2 separate regions of the Homo sapiens genome follow, and region 2 is linked to region 1. Evidence: promoter capture Hi-C in human tissues and cell types (Jung and others, 2019). All regions are on one chromosome and are shown on one strand. The core of a region is centred on a gene start or on the middle of the fragment in contact, and the rest is flanking DNA. Distances in the headings are between cores, read along the strand shown.

Region 1 (3,617 bases), core at 396-2,895:
AGGAAGAGAAGGGTCAGCAGAGAAGTCCAGAGAAGCATAGAGAAGGCCTTAGGGTAGGATGCTGCCAAGGAGATCAAAGGGATGAGGGGCTGAGAATGGGTCACCAGACTTGACTTCTCAAAAAGTAACTGTTTTAGAGTGCATGCTCAATACAGTTGGGGGGAGGCCCACTGTCACGGGGTTGAGGAGGGAGGAGTAGGCAAGGGGTGTGGACTCCCCATTTAACAAGGTCGACAGTAAGAGAAAAGAAGATGCCACTCAACTCCTCACTTTCGATCTGCTGTAATTTAACTTGAGCCTGAACAGTCAATATTCCTTTGGGATTCATATTAGCTCCCTGAGCATGACATTGTCTTTCTCTTTATTACATTTTCTTATTCCTTAAGATTTTAAGATTTTCTTAATTGGATCCATTTCTCTTCATGCACCATCAATGGCCAAGAAATGGGCTATTGGCAGGCACAGTTTTGGTTTTGGGGTTGATTGGTTTGTTTACACTAATAGTTTCTCTTTCTCGATCCAAGGCTTGACCAAGGAGGTCAGGAATTCTGTCCTGGGAGTTCAGGGACTGAGGACCAGGATGGAGGAAGCAAAAGGCGTCAGGCATTAGGCTGGAAACGTCTTGGTCGGTTATCTAGGATCAAAGAGTCAAAGGTAGCGATGACTTCATCCCCGTAGAGGGCGCCTCCCTACCCCGACAGTGGATTTTCGGTCAGCCGGTTTGCCCGGGATGTTTTCTTTGACTACTTGCTTCTCACTGGCGCCCCAAGTCACTTTGAAGAAAAAAAAAATGTGATTAAATCGATTCCCCTGTTTCTTTCTGTGAGGAGTGTGCCTTTCCCAGACAGCGTGCGTTCATTCGATGAGGCCTGGCAAAATTTTTGAGGGGTCTTTTTACGCTTTAATACAACCTAAAGGTTTCTGTTACCATCATCATTGAGAATTAAAAACAAAAACAAAATAAAAAACGGTAACAAATTTACAGCTTGGCAGGCCCCAGGGAGGAGCTGACCTTTGCGAAGCTCTAGCGCAGCCAGGTTTCAGCTGTAGGGGTTGGGACAGGTCAGTTCGCCCAAGTGCTGCTAGCTCTCCAGGGAGAAGCAAGTGTTGGGGCAGAGGGTGGTCTGGCGCGTGCGTCGGGGGGCGTGTGCGGGTGTGTGTGTGTGTGTGCGCGCGTGTATATAAGAGTGTGTGCGCGCCCGTGTGCACAAGAGAGGGTGCCTGGGAGGCTGTCGCAAAGGCTCCTTTGTGAAAGGCACTTGCAGGTTCAGAAGCCAGCTTGGCGCCTCCTCTCGCCCGTTCCCCGAGGACACCTGGCTCTTCTGGGCAGCCCAGCTATCTCCGTCTCCTGCCGCCCCTACTTCTCTCGGTGGCCCCCGGCCTAGCCCCGCACCAGCCTTCGGGTGCGGGAAGCAGTGTGCCCCGAGGCGTCTCCCCCGGGGCCCCGCGCAGGTGAAGGTGAGCGCGTGGCGGTGACGGTGGCGCGCGTAGGGTGGAAGGGGAGGCGAGGGAGGGGCGGAGCAGGAAAGGGCGCGCTGCCCTTCCCGGCCGGCCAGGAGCAGCGAGGCCGCAGCTTTGTTACCTGAGGCTGCCGCTGCGCCCCGCCCCGCCCTGCCCCCTCGCGCTCAGGGTTGGCTGGGCCTGCAGTGACCGGGAGGAGGCGGCTACGCCGACACAACGGCGGGAGGCTGCAGCGGTCTGCGCGCCGGGAGCGGGGGCGCGCTGGCCGCGGGTGAGTGCGGGTCGGGCGGCCGAGGCGGGGGCGACCGCGGCGCGGGACACGGGGAGCTGGAGCCCCGCCGCTCGGGAGGGTCAGGGTTGGGGTGTTGTCCGGGACCCGAGGCTGAGGCGCCGAGAAGCGCGGCTGATGGGTGCCGGGTCTCGGCTTCCTCCGAGCCTCACCGGGAAAGCTGGAGAGGAGGTTCCAGTTCCCTCCACATCCACCCCGGTGACTTTGGCGGCCGCCCTTACCCGGCCACGGAGAACAGCGATCGGTCCCTGGAGGCGAGGACGCGCCGGTGTGGACCCGCGTCTGGAGAACGAGCTGCATCGCCAAGGCTGCTGCGGGTCGCACCTGGGCGGTTGACTATTAGTCGTGGCTAAGACTTTCAGATCAACCGCCCCCTAGTTTATCCCGACCCTTGGGAGACAGCGGCGTCCCGCACGGAATGCGCAGCCGCGGCGCCGCGCTCGGTTCCCTAGCCAGCCGGGGGCCACGCCTGGCCCCTGACACAGTGGTGGGGCGGTGGCGGGGACCTAGTGCGGTGGTGCGGACCGAGGACCAGGCGCTTCTCGCCCCGACAAACTTGCTCCGGCCGCGCGAAGTTCGGATTGCAAGTTGCGCCCCGCGCCTGCAGGAGTGTGGGGAGGGGGAGGAAGCGGGTGGGCTGGGGATCAGCCTCCAAACAAGGGGTGTCCCCAGCTCTTGGAGAGCGGGTTCTGACCGGTTTCAAACGCCAGGAGTCTCCCCTCTGTTTTTCTCAGCGGCTCGACCCGGCTCCCTTTTGGCAGAGCCGCAGTGCGGCCGTGAGGCTTTTCCCCCGCGCCTGCGACCTGGATGGGGGACGTGGGAAGATGTCGCGGCGGAGGCTCCGGGTGGGTTGGGAGCGCGCGGCCGCCGCAGACCCGGTGTCTGCGAGCCGGAAGACCCCCCCTTTCGTTTCATTCACACGGACACCTCCCCTAGTTAGCCGTCTCCCACCCAACTTCTGGGCGCAGCGTGCTAAACCCCCGCAGAGGGGCTGGCGCCCTGGGGGGCGTGGCGTGGGGAGCGTGGGCTTTCCAGCGTGGGCCCCTCGGGGAGGGGGGCGGGGCCGAGACCCCCTCCAACTGGAGGGGCCGGGAATGGGCGAGCGGGTGCGGCGGCCGACCCAGCAGCTGCAGCCGCCGGACGGGAGAGCGGTCGGCGCTGCGGAAGGCCGAGGGTCGTGCAACGCCCGCGCTGGGCGCCCGCCCCGCAGTCCCCGCCCCGCAGGCCGCGGCTTCTCTCCCCGCCGCAGAGCTGGCGCGGCGCGTGTGGGCGTCGATCTCAGCGCGCACCGGCGCCCCACCCTCGCGCCGCGACGCCCTTCTGCCCGGCGCTGATAAGGACGCAGCTGGGGCTCCGCGCGGCCCGTGGGCCGCCCACTCGCGTTCAGTTTGCTGACCCCAGCGCGGCTCCCCGGGGATTCGCGGCCCAGCCGGTGGCGGCTGAGCCGGTGGCTTGTTGGTGAGTGGCTCGGGCGGGGACCGGGGTGCCGGGTTGGGGATGTAAGGAGGCTGCGGACAGCTGTCTAACGCAGAGAGCTGGTGAACTACTACGTATCCAAACTTGAAAGAAGTGGTGTCCCAGGACCCCCCAGGCCGAATTTCTTCCGGACTTAATGGTCGGTTTTCAAACTTCCGTGTGGACAGAAACGACCTCCGGGATTCGGCCGTCTGTGACCCCCTTCAACTGACCCACAGTTGTCTTCCTGGAAGGAGCAGCCGGCGCTCCCTTCCCTCTCTCTAGAGCATCCTTTGGCACGCATGTGCTTTTTTTTTTTTTTTTCTTGGTTTTGGGACAGTGAGAGAAACTGAAAATGAACATTCAAATACAGGCGTTTTTCCTCTGCTCTCGGGTGTTGGTCTCGGGCGCC
Region 2 (3,617 bases), core at 395-2,894, 150 kb before region 1:
TACATTATTATCTCAAATGATAACCTTATAAAGTGGCTAAAGTCCTCATTTCTGTAGGTGAAGAAAATAAAGCTGAATGATTAACTGAAGCTAAAGTAGTCTGCTCAGAATTGCGCTGGTGGAGCCAGTGCATGGCTCCACCTACGTTGTCTGACTCTAGACTACTACTGTAGACAACTTCTACCATGCGTCCATTATGTCCTTTTTGAAATGAGTTGGAGATATATCACCTGACTTTCTATCAGGTGTTGAGAAAAGGTTGTTTCCTTTCTTAATCTTCAGTGGATGAACATCTGGTTGAATATCATACTGAGAAGTTTGACAAAAAAGTGAATTTGGTGGAGGCAGTTGGTAGGGGTTTCCTATGGGGATGGATATAAGTCTCTGGTGTGTGTGTGTGTGTGTGTTAGAACACACACACCTACTTGAAATAAAGAATTGTAAGTATTATAAATTCTTGAAATGAAGATTCAAATAATAAGCAGATGGTGTGTGTGTATATGAGGAGGGGAAAATGTGAAAATGAAGATTATAAGTAATAAACTGGGCATTGTAAGAGTCTGGAAGTATAAATAAATTTTAGAATAATACATTTGGGATGGAAAGAATAAATTCAGAATGGAAGAAGGAGTAAATTAAACAGGAAACTTTAATATGGTTATGGATGAAAAACTAAAATATTTGTACAGAATGGAAAGTGAGTTGTTCCACTTAATATGGAAGTTGATGACTTAGGATCATGACAATCTAAAAGTCAGATATGTAGCACTACTTCTGGATGTATGAAAAAGACTATTGGCCTGAAAATAATTTTGTTTTCCTTGATCTTTAGTAGCTTTTGGCAGTCATGGAAGCTGCCGAATGGCTCTTGCAGATTAACAGATATTCTTTATGAGACAAAAGTATTTATTTTCTTTTTCTTTTTCCTTTATTCCTATTCTCCTCTTTCTCCCATCTCTCATTCCATTCTCCTCCATTCCTTCTAAGCCTTTGTCTTAGGATGGGCATAGGCAGGTGTTGCTCAAACCTTTAGTTGTTCCTGAAAAAGGAATATAAAGTCTCTTTATGAAATACACTTTTTTCCCTTAATGAACATACTTATTTAAGTGAATGCTGTTTTTCAGAGTAGGCAATCTGCTTTGAAATCTTCTTCTAGTATGACTGTCGGTTCAGATTGAGACATACAAAAATGAAGTTCTTGCCTGGCTTCGTCACTTCGTGACCTCAGTCACCAGAATCTGAATAACTTTGGGTATTTGGAAAAAATCAGATCCTCTCTTGAAAGACAAAGATTTGGGGATCTGAAGGTAGTTGCAAAACAGGCAATTGCTCAAATCTTTTGTGAAAATATGGCAGTGTCTTTACCATGTTCTCACCTAAGATAAGAATTTATATTTTATTTTTGTATATCTGTGATAGCATTGGACTAGCAGCTCCTTGATGTTGAAGCTTGAGCCTCATTGGTCCCTGGGGAACAGTGACATACTGCCTTTGGAACAGGATCATAAAAGCAGCAGAGTTAGTGGTAAGCCCTAAATCTTCCAGAGGAGGGAGTCAGTTCGCCAACTCCAGTTTCTGCTAGCCTGAGATACTCATCATGGCACACATAAAAAATGATTATAATTGTATGGCAGACTAGAGCCAGGCCCTCCTTGGTTCCTTGGAAGCTGTGGAGTGGGGGAATGGGTCACAATTTCAGCACATCTGTAATCCATTCTTGGCACACTGTTTGGAAATCTTTGCCCTAGAGAAAAGGAATATGTTACTCTGTTTAATACCTTCTGTTTGTTTAGCATGTAATAATTTACAAAGCACTTTCACATACATCCTCATTTTATTTTTACTCCAGCCATACCAAATAGGTAGAGCAGATAACATCACCACATTAGAAATAAAGAAATTGAGATTTAGGTAAAGTGCTTTGTCCAGGGTCACATACCTAAAAAGGGATGGATCAGGAATTTATACCCTCAGTGGAAAGAGCCCCTGGGTTTAAGCCCGTGATCTGTAATCTCTAAAATGGCCAGGACCTTATCTGTTTTGTTTCAGTGCTATATATTGCCCAGGGTGGTCTTGAACTCCTGGGCTCAAGCGATCTTCCCGCCTTGGCCTCCCAAAGTGCTGGGATAACAGGCATGAACCACTGCATCCAGCATAAGTATTATAAATTCTTGAAATAAAGATTCAAGTAATAAGCAGAAAATGGAAAGGATGTTTTTTCTATTCCTCTAATCTCTCCACCCACCACACCTCTCTCCCAGTTAATTTGAAAAGTAGGTATTGGGGAATCAGATGAAATATATGAGAAAGCTGTAAACCTGCACTGTCTAATGCCAGGGATGCTAGCCACATGTAGCTATTTAAGTTAGTTAAAATTAAATACAATAAAAGATTCAGTTCCTCATTGTACCAGCCACATTTCAGTGTCAGTATCATATGTGGCTGGTGGCTACTTTATTGGACAGTGCAAATTTAGAACATTTCCAACAACATTGGCCAGCCCTGATAAAACTTTAAAATGCGACATGATATGATGTGATACATAATTCCTATATTGTTGAACCACGAGTTTAAAAATCTGCTACCCATGGTGCCTAGCAGTTTTTGTTTTAGCTGATGAAATGTTATTGCCATGTTCTCTCTCAGCTTTTTGTTTTAACTAAATCCAGATGGTCAAAGTCTAAGTCTAACATTTTTCTTGGATATTTGGGGATTATAGTTAGCTGCTTTTCTAGGATAAAGATGTCAGCTTCATTAAGGGCATGAGTGTTTTCTGTCTGCTTTGAGCTGTAGATCTGTATGTCTTGCTGTCTTGTTGACATCCTTTCTTGAATATCTTAAAGGTATCTCAAATCCAGTATGTCTAAAATGAAACTGATTTCCCCTTCCCTCCCTACAAAACTGCACAACGTTGGTTCTTTCTTTGTTCCTTTTTTCAGTGAATGACACAATTATCTTTTCATTGTAAAATCCAGAAAACTAGAAGTGATCCTTAATTCCCTCTCCCTGATAGATCCAATGATTGAACAAGTTTTTAAAGTCTTACTTTCTACATGACTCTTGAATTTTTCTATTTCTTCCTGTTTCCACTACTGCCACTTCATCTTGCCTGAAACTTTTACAATAGCCTCCATTCTTATCTGTCCTCTCTAATTCATTACCCATCTTGAAGGCACAGTGATTTATTTTGAAACACACATTGGATTATCACTCTCCTTCTTCCTCCCCCAGTGCTTTTATGGCTTTCCATTGCTTCTAGGATCAAAATAAAACTGCTTAACAGCCTTTAGCTCTCCAGACTCATCTTGTACCATGTTCTGCATAACTCTCCAGTTCAACCATGCTGGCCTTCTTTAGTCCTTTGTATGCACCTTGCTCCCTGCCATTTTTGCAAGGCTTTTGTACATGCTTTTCTCTCTGTCTGGACCATTCTTTCTTTACTTTCATTTCATTTCACTTGTTAGTTCCTAGTCATCCTTCACACCTCAGCTGAAGTTTTGCATCCTTAGAGAATATGCTCACTTCCCACATTAAGGTAATAGCATCATACATTTCCCGCAGTTTGCAATTTACATTTATTCATGTGACTGTAAGATTTTCTTTCTGTTCAGTGGCCT

What was found. The method cuts DNA at HindIII sites, captures the fragments that hold promoters and counts their contacts. A contact is called where the count stands out against the background at its distance.
Region 2: a contact is called between a fragment that was not itself captured here and the fragment with the promoter of FHDC1 in region 1, in 1 of the 25 tissues and cell types used here (H1 embryonic stem cells).

The regions. Positions count from the first base shown.
Region 1 is chr4:152,934,678-152,938,294 of GRCh38, forward strand. FHDC1 (FH2 domain containing 1) reads left to right here and starts at 1,646. Exons shown (of 12, transcript NM_001371116.1): 1 at 1,646-1,732. LOC729870 (a long non-coding RNA gene) reads right to left here and starts at 2,160. Exons shown (of 2, transcript NR_136614.1): 1 at 1,972-2,160; 2 at 1-773. RefSeq lists silencers at 1,602-1,691, 3,024-3,283. The HindIII fragment of the contact is 7,704 bases long and covers 1-3,617 here.
Region 2 is chr4:152,783,448-152,787,064 of GRCh38, forward strand. All of the region lies in intron 1 of ARFIP1 (ARF interacting protein 1), which reads left to right. Among named protein-coding and RNA genes, the nearest start is that of ARFIP1, 5.3 kb to the left of the region's middle. The HindIII fragment of the contact is 6,067 bases long and covers 1-3,617 here.